Regions from separate parts of the Homo sapiens genome. Here all the other regions are linked to region 2. Evidence: promoter capture Hi-C in human tissues and cell types (Jung and others, 2019). All regions are on one chromosome and are shown on one strand. The core of a region is centred on a gene start or on the middle of the fragment in contact, and the rest is flanking DNA. Distances in the headings are between cores, read along the strand shown. Region 1 has its middle 14 kb from the start of CYP11B2. Region 2 holds the start of GML (glycosylphosphatidylinositol anchored molecule like). Region 3 has its middle 40 kb from the start of CYP11B2.

Evidence for each region. Contacts are between HindIII fragments. The study calls those that stand out against the background at their distance.
Region 1: a contact is called between a fragment that was not itself captured here and the fragment with the promoter of GML in region 2, in 3 of the 25 tissues and cell types used here (lymphoblastoid cells, mesendoderm cells and spleen).
Region 3: a fragment that was not itself captured here is called in contact with the fragment with the promoter of GML in region 2 in 2 of the 25 tissues and cell types used here (H1 embryonic stem cells and mesendoderm cells).

Annotation. Positions count from the first base shown.
Region 1 is chr8:142,929,887-142,934,137 of GRCh38, reverse strand. No RefSeq gene overlaps it. Among named protein-coding and RNA genes, the nearest start is that of CYP11B2, 14 kb to the right of the region's middle. The HindIII fragment of the contact is 8,685 bases long and covers 1-4,251 here.
Region 2 is chr8:142,832,562-142,837,100 of GRCh38, reverse strand. It overlaps GML (glycosylphosphatidylinositol anchored molecule like), which reads right to left and starts at 2,300. Exons shown (of 4, transcript NM_002066.3): 1 at 2,233-2,300. The HindIII fragment of the contact is 25,891 bases long and covers 775-4,539 here.
Region 3 is chr8:142,955,782-142,960,473 of GRCh38, reverse strand. No RefSeq gene overlaps it. Among named protein-coding and RNA genes, the nearest start is that of CYP11B2, 40 kb to the right of the region's middle. The HindIII fragment of the contact is 8,627 bases long and covers 1-4,692 here.

The DNA of each region.
Region 1 (4,251 bases), core at 1,319-3,818, 97 kb before region 2:
CCCTGGGCAATCCCTGGGCAAAGGCCCTGATTTTTTCTTGGCTTCATTTGTTTACCAATAAAATGGGGATGATCACAGTTCTGCCTCATAGTGTCATGTATATGTATTTGATATAAAGTGTAACGTGGTGCCCAGCTGTAAGTGCTCAGTTGTGCTTCTTATTGATATCCTCATAACGTATTGTTACTGCTGCTGTTACAATTGCTCCAGGGCCATGTTACGATTAAGGAAAAACCCTGAGGACCAGAGGAGTTAAACCAGGCTCTTCCCCGGCAGGTGGCACCCACCGCCGAGCTTACCTTCGCATCTCACAGGCAGAGCTTCGGCAGTCCACCCTGCTGCCTGAGCTGTGAATTAGAGGAGTGAGGTCCTTGGTCATGTACCAAAGACTAAAAAGGGCTTCTTGGCCAGGCGCAGCGGCTCATGCCTGTAATCCAAGCACTTCGGGAGGCTGACGCAGGCAGATCACTTGAGGTCAGGGGTTCAAGACCAGCCTGGCCAACATGGTGAAACCCCATCTCTACAAAAATTAGCCAGACATGGTGGCAGGTGCCTGTAATCCCAGCTACTCAGGAAGCTGAGGCAGGAGAATCGCTTGAACCCGGGAGGCAGAGGTTGCAGCGAGTGTAGACCACACCACTGCACTCCAGTCTGGGTGACAGAGTGAGGCTCTGTCTCAAAAAGATAAAGAATAAAAATAAAAAATAAAAAGGGCTTCTCAGTATAATGTCTGGTTCTGAATGCTGACGAAGAAAAGACATCAAAGGGGAATTCTATCTGGAACGTTCTAAGTATTTCAAAGCTAAGTACCCACGGGTTATTGCCCATAGGCTATTTTGAAGTTCTTGAGCTATTGGCCTCTCCATAGTCAATTGTTAATTAAATGTATCAGCATAATTGTGTCAACTTCTGAACTCACACTCACTTTTTTATATCCCTCATCTTATCTCTGGATCACTTTCTTTGAAGCAAATTCTGAATAGTTCTTTTGGGCAGGGTCTGTGATGAGTAAACTGATTTTTTTCATTAATAGTTCCTTTAGCCTGTTCTCTTGGATGAGCGTTTAACTGAATTTAAGATCCTGTGTTTACAGTAATGTTCCGTTTGCATTTTACATATATATTATTACTCCATTGTCTTCTGTCACTGAATGGTACTGTCAAGGCAAATTTATAGGTTGTCTTTGCTTTCCAGAGGCTTTTCTTGTTTGTTTGTTTGAGACAGTTTCACTCTTGTAGCATGCTCTTGTAGCACAGTCTCAGCTCACTGCAACCTCCACCTCCCAGGTTCAAGGGATCCTCCCGCCTCAGCCTCCCAAGGGCTGGGATTACAGGCACCTGCCACCACACCCGGCTAATTTTTGTATTTTTAGGAGCGACAGGTTTCACCATGTTGGCCAGGCTGGTCTCGAGCTCCTGACCTCAGGTGATCCACCTGCCTCAGCTTCCCAAAGTGCTGGGATTCCAGGAGTGAACCATCACGCCCAGCCTGCTTTCTAGAGGCTTTTATCTTTATTATTGACGTTCTGCTCAACACCTACTAGAACACGGGTTTGTAGACATTGTTGTGTATGTGTGTGTGGGGTATTTGCAAGAACATGCAAGTGTGTCTCTATAGATATGATTCTGACTTGTCCTTTTGCTTAATGCATGGTAAGCAACATTTTCGGTTAATTCAGATAGACCCACGTTTATTACCGATGTCCACTGTCCCACTCAATGGGTGCACCTTAACTTAGTGCTTCTTTTATTACAAGACAATTATGCTGTGTCTACTCTGACATGATCAAAATTAGGGAAATAAATGTGTTAGCACATATGTCTATAGTTTAGACTTATAGAATGGAGTCACTCTGAGGGCAGACACTTTCTTTTTCATTAGCATATCGCACAGCGCCTGACTGGTAGAAAGTTCCCAATAAAGACGTGCTGGGTGAATCAATGAAAGGGTGTACTCAGCCATTTAGAATTTTTTAGACAATGCCACTATTGCCCAACAGTCCATGAGGTCAGAAGAACAACAACCAGCAATTCCAGGGCCCCTCTTGCAAACAGATACAGATTTCTGCAAGAAAGCTGGAACCGTTCTTTTGCAAAGTGAGGCCTGACTTCCATGATTATGAGGCGGCCACACACCTACGGAGTCAGCCTTGTCTTTCCCTCCTATGGCTGCGGAGAGCTGCCCGACACCGTGCGCTACTTAAAAAGCTCCAGGAAATGTCTTCAGGTTCTAGCAAAATTATGGAGCAGAAACTCTGAAAATCCTTTCACTTCCAGCAACAATAAATACTGAAAAACATACAAAGATGCATTTCCAGGCTCTCAAAAGAACACATCTTCAGGAGCCCCAAATAGGGAGGGACCTGGACAAGGGATCAGTCTACATGGGTTTGGATCATAATCCCAAAAGACACAGGACGGAATGCCATAATCTAAACTCCTAAAGTCTAAAATCTCTAACATCTAAAATCCCAAGAATCCCAATCACAGGACAGTTGCACCATGTTAGACAGCACTGTTTCCTTGTTCTTGTCCCTTTTTTTTGGAAATTAACTGTGATTTCAGGAGGAGACGGGTATGGGTGCCAAGTTGACAAGGGGTGAACTTGTGGACCTAACTTTAAGTGTCAACTCAACTGGATTCAGAAATACCTGGAAACCTGGTGACACATTATTCGGGGTGTGTGTGAGAGGCATTTCCAGAGGAGATCAGCATGTGGGTCTGAGTGGTTTGTATGGGGAGGATCTGCTGTAATGTTGGTGGGCACCGGCTAATCCACGGATGCCCTGGAGAGAACAGATACAGAAGGTGAATTGTCTCCCTGAGGGCTGGGACAGACCTCTTCTGCTGCCTTGAACACAGAACCCCAGGCTCTCCAGCCTTTGGAGTCCAGGACTTTTACACCAGTGGCCCCCGGCTTCTCAGGTTTTCAACTTTGTAGTGAGAGTTACACCTGTCCCCTCCCATCCCGCAATGGGTCTTGAGGCTTTCGGTTTGAGCCACACTACTGGCTTCCCACAGTCTCCAGCTTGCAGACAGCCTGCCATGCGACTTCTCAGCCTCTGTAATCATGTGAACCAGTTCCCCTAATAAACCCCTCTCATATATCCATACCCAGAACTTATTGGTTCTGTCTCTCTGGAGAACCCTGACTAATACAGACTTTGTATTGTGGAAGTTGAATACTGTTCCTTCTTACTGTATTTCTTACAACACAATGGAAGAGATCTGTGGAATCATTCCTTTGCAAAAAGGCTGCAATAAGTGTATTAAGCTACTTAATGGTGAAAGATAATAGTTTAAAAGCTAATTATTATTGGCACTGCAATTAAGCAGAAAATTGCTTAATTGCAACAAACAATAATAAGACCTTCAAATAGACAGCATATATCTGCAAAATTCGTAGACCACCACCACTCTCCAGATACAAGTGCAGCAAGTGTTTTGAAGACAATAGAAGTGAAAACTCAGGTGAAAAATACAAGAAATCTCCCAAGTCACATTATCCATTCAGGCCTGACTTCTGCCCCTTCACACACAGCACCAGGCTTGCCTTCAAAAAATGCCCTTGGGCTGGGCGCGGTGGGTCACGCCTGTAATCCCAGCACTTTGGGAGGCCGAGGCCGGTGGATCACGAGGTCAGGAGATGGAGACCATCCTGGTTAACACGGTGAAACCCCGTCTCTACTAAAAATACAAGTAATTAGCTGGGCATGGTGGCAGGTGCCTGTAGTCCCAGCTACTCAGGAGCCTGAGGCAGGAGAATTGCTTGAACCTGGGAGGTGGAGGTTGCGGTGAGCCAAGATAGTGCCACTGCACTCCAGCCTGGGCGACAGAGTGAGACTCTGTCTCAAAAACAAAACAAAACAAAAACGCGCTTCATCAGAGAATAAAGCGAATTCGACAAGCTCAGCGAGCTTCGGAACCAAGGAGGTTTGCTCTTTGCCACTGGGGTTCCTCCAGTGACACAAACACACTGCATGGTGAGAGATTATTGATTAGGGATTTGACTGTTGAAGAGGATAGACTTCTTATATTTACCACTAAATCTGACATAGAAAGACTGGCGCATGCTTCACTTCGACTAAAGACGGCACTTTCAAAACTGTTCCCACTGTTTTCTTTCAACTATATGCAATTCAAGTCCCTGTTGGATCTGAAAATTCTAGAACTTTATCTCCTCATTTGTGTTTCAATGACAGGAAAAAGTGAAGCACTTTATGAATGCTTGTTTGAAGATTTGGTGGACTGT
Region 2 (4,539 bases), core at 1,051-3,550:
GCTGGTCTTGAACTCCTGACCTCAAGTGATCTGCCTGCCTCAGCCTCCCAAAGTGCTGGGATTACAGGTGTGAGCCACTGCAAATTTTAAAAATCCTTCTCTTTGTTCTTTGGACATACTGAATGCCAGCCCGTCTACCCCCATGCCCCTAATTACAATTATTTCCTCCGAAAGAAAAGATTTCAATTTCAGAAAGTCATCTATTTTATTTGACTTCAACACGAGACAAGCCACACTCTGTAGGAGAAGGGGAAGGGCACCGCTCAAGATGGCTTCAGTTAGGGTTAGAGACAGGGCCGGCTCCAGAGGCAGCCAGGGTCAGGTTGAAGCTGCAAGCATCCCACTTGGCCTCCACCTTTGAGCAAGCCAGTAGTCCAGGCCTTCCCACAGGCTCCTGGAGAGAGGAGAGGGCACACATCCCCAGTAGTAACATACAACCACCTCCAAGCTTTCCAGCTATTTTGTACGCAACGCAAGATGTTCAATAAAAACATCACAGGATATGTAAGAATTAGGAATAAATTATTGCTAATCAATAAAACAACAATAGAAATAAACCCACAGTTCACTCAAATGTTGACATTAGCATACAAGTACTTTAAAAATTCTAATGAGAGCATTAAAGAGAAAAAGATTACTAAATTGATTTTTTAAAGATGAAAAAATTTTAAAAATAACAGGATGTGTAAGAGGCAGAAATAAGGGACTATAGTATGAATTATTTCTACACCACCATACTTCTGACCCTAAATATGTGAGTTTTTACACACAAACCAGTTCTCCAACTCTCTGGACACTGACCGTCCAACATTTCAATTCAATTCTGACACTGCCTTGAGCAGGGCAGACCCCACAGGTGAAGGGCTCAGTCCCACCCTAATGCCCCCACTTCAGATGCCAATCACAAGTCTGGGCCACGTGTACTTCTGACTGCCCAGTTATAAATCAAGGGTTTCCAAGACCACCTCCTCCTAGATAATTTGCTAGAACAGCTTACAGAGCACAAGAAAACAGTTTACTTACTATTACCAGTTTATCACAAAGGTGACAACTCAGGAACCGTGAAACGGAAGAGATGCATGGGGCAAATACAGGGTAAGCTTAAGATGGCTTCAGACAAAAAGAGTAGGAATATCTTATTATCAGCAGACCCACTACAAGAAATATTGAGTTCATAACATATATAGAAATAAAGTATATGACAATATCACAAAGCAAAGGAGGCTGTAGAACTGAAAGGCAGAAACAGTTACGTCAGCGTCGGCGAGTGCAGGCTTCCAGGCAAAAAACATTGCAAGAGGTGACAAGGACAGACACTTCAGAGCCGAATGCAGTTTCGGACACTGAGAGTCCATTTTCTGACTATGGTGGCATTAAGCAATAAGTCACCCCAGAAGGATTAACTGGAAAATCCTCATCTGTTTGGAACTTAAGAACACACCTCCAAATAAGAAATAGACCCCCAAATCCTTCTCAATAGAAGTCAAGAATATTTTGGGCAAAGTCATAATAAAGAATGAAAAATAGAAACCTGGCAGAAGTAGCCTGAAGGGACACGGAAGGAAAAGCAGGGCTCCATTAGAAAAGGCAAAAAGACTGGAAACGAAGGCCTCCTTCTCTCCTTCGAAAGCAAGGAGCCAGAAAAGAACGAGCAGCAGAACGTGGAACAGGCTGCGGCCCGAGACCCGCGCCTTGGGGAATCACAGACAGTGTGGGGGTGGGCGGCCCCGGGACACCCCGAGGGAAGGGGACTCAAGAACTGAACGGAGCCCCAGCCCCAGACTCTCGAGGGAAGTTGAGCTGTAAGGGGAGGGGGGCCCCAGGGAAGCGGAGTTGGGGTGCTGGCATCTCCCTGGGACCCCTGAGCATAGTTGGGGGGTCTCCCTGGGACCCTGATGGGAGTGGAGCTCGAGAGGTCCCCCAGTACCCCTGAGAGGAGCTGAATTAGGGGGTCTCCCTGGGACCCTGAGGGGAATGGAGCAGGGGGCGTCTCCCCAGGAACCTGCGGGGAGTGGAGTTTTGAGGGGTCCCCCTGGCACCCCTGAGAGGAGCTGAGTTCGGGGGGTCTCCCTGGGGCTCCGAGGGGAGTGGGGGCACCCCATCCAGGGAAGCGCGGCGCACCCCCGGCGGCGTCCTGGCGGCCCAAGCAGCTGACGAGGAGGCTGCCTCAGCTGGGCCCCTGGGCAGACTCCAGTCTCACGCCTGGGTCCCGACCCGCCTCAGGAAACTGACCTGTGCCCCTCGGAGCCCCGCAGTGTGCGTGCCCGCCGCCTCCAGCCATCTGAGCCTCCCGCGCCGACCTCCCCACCCGCTTTCTGGAACTTTCGGGGGCCTCCGCCGGCCGCACAGCCCCGCCCTCCTTCCGGACCCTCAAAGCCCCGTCCCCAGGCTCCAGGCCTCCAGCCCATCTGCCAGTGTTCAAAGGTGGGCAGGGTCCCCCTTGGGGCTCCCAGGTGAAAATATTTCTCACAGAAATCTGCACACCCTGGCTCCATCCACGCTCCCTTTAGGAAAGCCACGGGGAATGTTCTAGAAGCGCACGGCCCTGGCTGCTGGAGAAACGGGACAGCAGCCACCCTCGGCAGCCTGTTGGCACCGCCCAGGCCCACCCTGCCCTCAAGGTCCCAGTCCACCTGCCTCGTTCCTGGACCCTCCCTCTAGGGGGTCCCGCCATCACCATAACCCCTGGGGACCCCGGGAGCCCCTCCGCTCAGGGTGCGACCCCGTCGCCTCTGGAGCCGGCCCTGTCCCTAACCCTGACCAAAGCCAGCTTGAGCGGTGCCCTTGCCCTTCAGCCCCGCCAGCGCCCACCTGTGCAGAGGTTTCAGGGGGAGACCTGCCTGGCTTTCGCTTGAGCTCCTGCCATTTTGCCTTCAAGCTGTGTGTGGCCAGGGACAGCTGGCTTCACCCGAGCATCTCCTACACAGTGTGGCTTGGCTCTTGTCGAAGTCATATAAAATAGGTGAATTTCTGAAATTGAAATGTTTTATTTGGGAGGAAATAACTGCAATTAGGGGCACGGGGGCAGACTGGCTGGCCTTCAGTATGTCCAAAGAACAAAGAAAAGGCTTTTTTAAATTCGCGGTGGCTTACACCTGTAATCCCAGCATTTTGGGAGGCTGAGGCGGGCAGATCATTTGAGGTCAGGAGTTCAAGACCAGAGTGATCAACATGGTGAAACCCCGTCTCTACTAAAAATACAAAAATTAGCTGGGTGTGGTGGTGTGTGCCTGTAGTCCCAGCTACTCAGGAGGCTGAGGCAGGAGAATCCCTTGATCCCAGGAGGTGGAGGTTGTAGTGAGCCGAGATCGTGCCATTGTGCTCCAACCTGCAGGACAAATCAAGTCTCTGTCTCAAAAAAAAAGGAACTATGTCTCTTTTTTATAAAGAAGAGAAATAGTACATATTGCTGTCTGAGTTTCATTGGCACTAGTAGGATTTTGGGGAGCTGGCAAGCTCTGGTTGATGAGTGAATCAGTGACGGCAGTGGGTGAACCGAGGCTTAGAGTTGCAGCAGGTGGTCTCAGTAGCCATCAGATAAAACTGGTTTCAGGTTACCGCAGACAGTTTCAGCAGTCAGGCCTCAGAGAAGTACATTCTTGGAGCAATGTTTTCTATCCTGAGTGCTGAATGGTCTCCCTACCTGGCACTCTGCCTTAGTTGGGTGTGACAAGGGTGACCCAATTTGTATGCTCACCTTTCACACCGAATCCTCAGCTCGGACGGGTTTCCCTTTCTAGGCTTTGACTTTCCCCTTGAACCTCATCCCACACACCTGTTCCATCGGGGCCACTGGCTTATGATGGAGACCAGTGGTATGACTGTGGCAGGCTCCTTCTAGGGGCACTCTGTCTCCTGGGATCTGCCACACTGGGGGGGATTCTACTTGGCCTTCTCTGACTCCCCAGGGTCCCTCCCACCACAGCACTTGGAGGCTCTTCCATGGGAAAACTGTCTTGATCTTTAGGTACCTGGAGATTCTGGGCCACTTTGGTTCCCCGTGAGCCAAGACGGCACTCTGGTTTGCATTCCCTACCGGAGTCCCTGTCTGTAGCCAGCCTGGCTTTCAGCTGGTGCCCAAAGTGACAAATGTATCTGCAATGACAAAGGGTACCCTGGGAAGGGCTCGCCCTCTGCGGAATTTCAGTTCATGCAGGCCTTGGTGCTTCCACATCTGTCCAAGGGCCTTTCAAATGTGACTTTTAACTCTGTGGATTGATTTGCCCGGTTGTCACATTCTGAGCAGCCACAACCTACTGCATCCCATGTAGAAGTGGAAGTGACCTGATTTTTTCCTGACTTTTCAAGGCTGTATGTTTACATTTGCCTCCAATCATTCCTATATGGGAATTCCTTGGGAGTCTAACTTGGAGACTTTGTTTCTTCTGCCTTTGCTCCTGGGGGCTTAATCACTTCTGTGCCTCTGGTTATCTGTGGCATATCTGTATTTGTCATTAGTAAACCAGAGGCTGGGGGTCTGAGTGGAGGGTATGTCCCCCTCCAGTGATGGTTTCTGTTCGCTTCCCAGGGTGAGGATGA
Region 3 (4,692 bases), core at 599-3,098, 120 kb before region 2:
GTTGCCACTGCTGGCTCGGGCAGCCTGCTTTTATTCTCTTATCTGGCCCCACCCACGTCCTGCTGATTGGTAGAGCCGAGTGGCCTGTTTTGACAGGGCGCTGATTGGTTCGTTTACAATCCCTGAGCTAGATACAAAGGTTCTCCACGTCCCCATCAGATCAGTTAGATACAGAGTTTGGACACACAGGTTCTCCAAGGCCCCACCAGAGCAGCTAGATACAGAGTGTTGATTGGTGCACTCACAAACCTTGAGCTAAACACAGGGTGCTGATTGGTGTGTTTACAAACCTTGAGCCAGATACAGAGTGCCGATTGGTGTATTTACAATCCCTGAGCTAGACATAAAGGCTCTCCAAGGCCCCACCAGAGCAGCTAGATACAGAGTGTCAATTGGTGCATTCACAAACCTTGAGCTAAACACAGGGTGCTGATTGGTGTGTTACAAACCTTGAGCTAGACACAGAGTGCCGATTGGTGTATTTACAATCCCTGAGCTAGACATAAAGGTTCTCCAAGGCCCCACCAGACTCAGGAGCCCAGCTGGCTTCACCCAGTGGATCCCGCACCGGGGCTGCAGGTGCAGCTGCCTGCCAGTCCCGCACTGTGCGCTTGCACTCCTCAGCCTTTGGGTGGTCGATGGGACTGGGCGCCGTGGAGCAGGGGACGGCAGTCGTCGGGGAGGCTTGGGCTGCACAGGAGCCCACAGAGGCGGGGGAAGGCTCAGGCATGGCGGGCTGCAGGTCCCGAGGCTTGCCCTGCGGGAAGGCAGCTAAGGCCCGGGGAGAAATCGAGCGCAGCGCTGGGGGGCCAGCACTGCTGGGGGACCCAGTACACCCTCCGCAGCCGCTGGCCCGGGTGCCAAGTCCCTCACTGCCCAGGGCCGGCAGGGCCGGCCGTCTGCTCCGAGTGCGGGGCCGCCAAGCCCACGCCCACCCGGAACTCCAGCTGGCCCGCAAGCGCTGCACAGCCCCGGTTTCCCCTCGCGCCTCCACCTCCACACCTCCCTGCAAGCTGAGGGAGTCAGCTTCGGCCTTGGCCAGCCCAGAAAGGGGCTCCCACAGTGCAGCGGTGGGCTGAAGGGCTCCTCAAGTGCCGCCAAAGTGGGAGCCCAGGCGGAAGAGGCGCCGAGAGCCAGCGAGGGCTGTGAAGACTGCCAGCACACTGTCACCTCTCACTTTTAGAATTTCTTATGCCAAAAGGCCGATATTTCTGGCTTTTGAACTTACCAAAGGTAACCACCCAGGTGCTTAGAGAAAGGAAAATTTAAGACGTTCTGCAGAGGAGAAGAGAATAGACAAGATATTAAACCAGAAATGACTTATTTCTTATGGGGGAATTGAACCCCAACCGCCACTGTGAAAGTGCAAAGCCTTGGCTACTGAGCTACAGCACAAGGCAGTATCCAGTTCTTTTCCCAGAAGGAGTCTTGAGTAGTTAACTTTGATCTTGCAAAGGCTTTTAACTGTTTAATATGATTTTTAGAGCTAATTATGACATGAATCCTAAAATTCCTCTTCCCCGAAGGCAGAGACCAAAAGGAAGTACTGCCATATGGTTAAAAGGTCAAGCTCCCAAGGACATAAAATCTCCATCTCAAATGCCACAAACTATGGCTCCATGTAAGTAACCTTCCCAACATGACAAAACTGTAGTGATGGAGGACAGTTGAGAAGTTGCCAAGAGTTAGTGGTGTGCGAGGAGGGCAGCCATGTCCACAAAGGTGTAGCACAAGGGAGGGTGTCTGCAGTGATGGAAGGGCTCTGCATATTGAATGGGGTGATGGCTGCAGGAATGACACAGGCGTGGAGTTCCTGGAACTCCGAGCACATTGTATCATGTCAATTTCCTGATTATCACATTTTACTATAGAATGGAAGATGTAACCACTGGGGGAACTGGGATCTCTCTGGACAGTCTTTGCAACTTCCTATGTCAGAGGTGCATGAACCAGAGCAACTCTATCTTAAATAGGAGCTGGGATTACAGGCGTGAACCACCACGCCTGGCTCATGTACTTTGTTTTTAAAGAAAATGCCAAGCTGTTTTCCAGAGTAGTTGTACCGTTTCACATTCCCACCAGCGACGAATGAGCCATCCAGCCTCTCCACTTCTTCACCAGCATTTGGTGAGGTCGCTATTTTATTTTAGCCATTCTGATAGGTGTGTAGTAGGATCTTATTGCAGTTTTGATTTGCCTTTTTCCCTAATGGCTAATTCTGTTGACATCTCTTCATTGGCTTGTTCTCTGTATTTCCTCTTCAGTGAAGAGTTTTTCATGTTTCTTTTTCTGACAATTTTCTAATTGAATTGAGATTTTTTTTCTCTTGGGTTTAGAGAGTATATATAAGAGCTAGTATCTAGAATATAGAGCTCGCTATGGTTTCAATGTTTGTCCCCTCCAAAACTCATGTAATCTCCATTGAGGCAGTACAGAGCAGGGGGCCTTTAAGAGGTGATTGGATCACAAGGGCTAGGCTCTCTTGAATGGATTAACCCATTCATGGGTTAATGGATTACTAGATTAATGGGTTAATGAATTAGTGAGTTATCATGGAATGGGACTGGTGGCTTTATAAGAAGAGGAAGAGAAAACTGAACTAGCACAGAAGCACACTCAGCGCCCTCGCCCTCCCTGGGATGCCCTGCACTCCTTCGGGACCCTATAGAGAGTCCCCACCAGCCAGAAGGCCCTCACCAGATGTGGCCCCTTACCCTTAGACATCGAAGCCTCCATAACTTAAGAAAGGAATTCTTTTTTTTTTTTTTGAGATGGAGTTTCGCTCTTGTTGCGCAGGCTGGAGTGCAATGGCACGATCTCGGCTCACTGCAACCTCCGCCTCCCGGGTTCAAGTGATTCTCCTGCCTCAGCCTCCCGAGTAGCTGGGACTACAGGTGTGCACCACCACACCCGGCTAATTTGTGTATTTTTAGTAGAGACGGGGTTTCTCCATGTTGGCCAGGCTGGTCTCGAACTCCTGACCTCAGGTGATCCACCCGCCTCGGCCTCCCAAATTGCTGGGATTACAGGCATGAGCCACTGCACCTGGACAGGAATTCTTTTTCTTTATAAATTACCCAGTTTCAGGTATTCTGTTATAAACAACAGAAAACAGATTAAGACAGAGCTGCATTCTAGGTATTAGCTCTTTGCCAGATACGTGGTTTGCAAATATTTCAATAGTTCAGCATTTCCCATTTAAATCTAGGAGCTATTTTGAGTTAATTTTTCTATAAGTAGTTTAGGTCGAGGTTACCTATGGATATCTGATTGTTTCAGTACAGCTGTTAATATGACTCTCCTTCCTCCATTAAATTGCTTTTTACCTCTGCCAAGTATCCACCGGCTGCACTGTGAGGGGCTGTTTCTAGGCTCGCTGTTCTGTTCCATCCATCTATGGGTCTGTTCCTCTGCCAGGACCACAGTCTTCACTACAGTAGCTATATAGTAAGTCTTGAAACTAGATAGAACAATTCCTTCCATTTTTTAAAAGTTATTTTAGCTATTCTAGTTCCTTTGCCTTTTCATATACGTTTTAGAATAATCTCATCTATACGAAGAACAGCTTTTCCTGGGCTTTTGATAGGGATTGCATTAAAAGTATGTCAAGTTGGAGAGAACTGACACCTTTCCTATGTTGAGTCTTCCAATCCACTGACAGCCTATATCTCCATCGATTTAGGTTTTTTTTTTTTTTTTTTTTTTTACTTATTTCAATAGCATTTTATAATTTTCAATAGCATTTTATAATTTTCAGCATACAGATGCTGTACATGTTCCTTTTTTATTTCCTTTGGAGTAACTGCAAAAAGTATTATGCCTTTCACTTCTATTTCCTCTTATTCATTGTTAGTATATAAAACATCATTGAGTTTTGTGTGTTAATCTTGTGACATTGCTAGACTTACTAGTTCTAAGAATTTTTTTTTGTAGATTCATTGAACCAGCAGGCATGCCCCAGAACATCTCCCAGACTTACTCTCACACGTGAATTATGGAAAATTGACTTATTGGTTGCAGTGTTGTTGGAAAGGGCAAAAGACAGAAAACCACCAAAACGTCCATCGGTAGGAGACTAGTTAAATAAATTATCATCAGCCAGCCTGATGGTCAGCAATTTTAAAATAAGTTCTCCAAGATGTGCATTAAGTGACCCATGTACATAATGTGTGAAATTTGGAGCAAAATTGAAAATAAATTAGACTCCATACCCTTATGTGATTGCTTTCCCATAAAGGAACCTGGAAAGGATAAGAAGTCAGTACGCCTGACCGCTGGCGGCAGCTGCCCTGGCGAGTGCCTGGGAAGAGGTGTGTGCCTTTATTCCACTATTTGAAGCATTAAGTCACCTGAGATGGGAAGGACGGAAACCCCTGCCTGCAGGCCAGGGTCCCTGCTGCCCCTCCCACAGCCTGTCCCCAATGTGGGGCACTGCCCTCTCCCCTGTAGTCCTGCCCCCTCCCCACTCCACCTGCCAATGGGGAGCAGTGGTCCCCATTCCACCAGAAACATGGCCCCTCTTAGCTGCCCTGCAGCCTACTTGCTGCTCCTTGGAAGACCCAGACCAAAAAATTCAAAGGAGCACCCTGGCTGGATTCTGGAATGTTCCAGAGCTCTCTGGATGTGACTTCTTTCTGAGATGGTCCCCAGAGCTCTTGGAGGCCCACAGCTTCCCTAGTTTTGCAGGTGGCA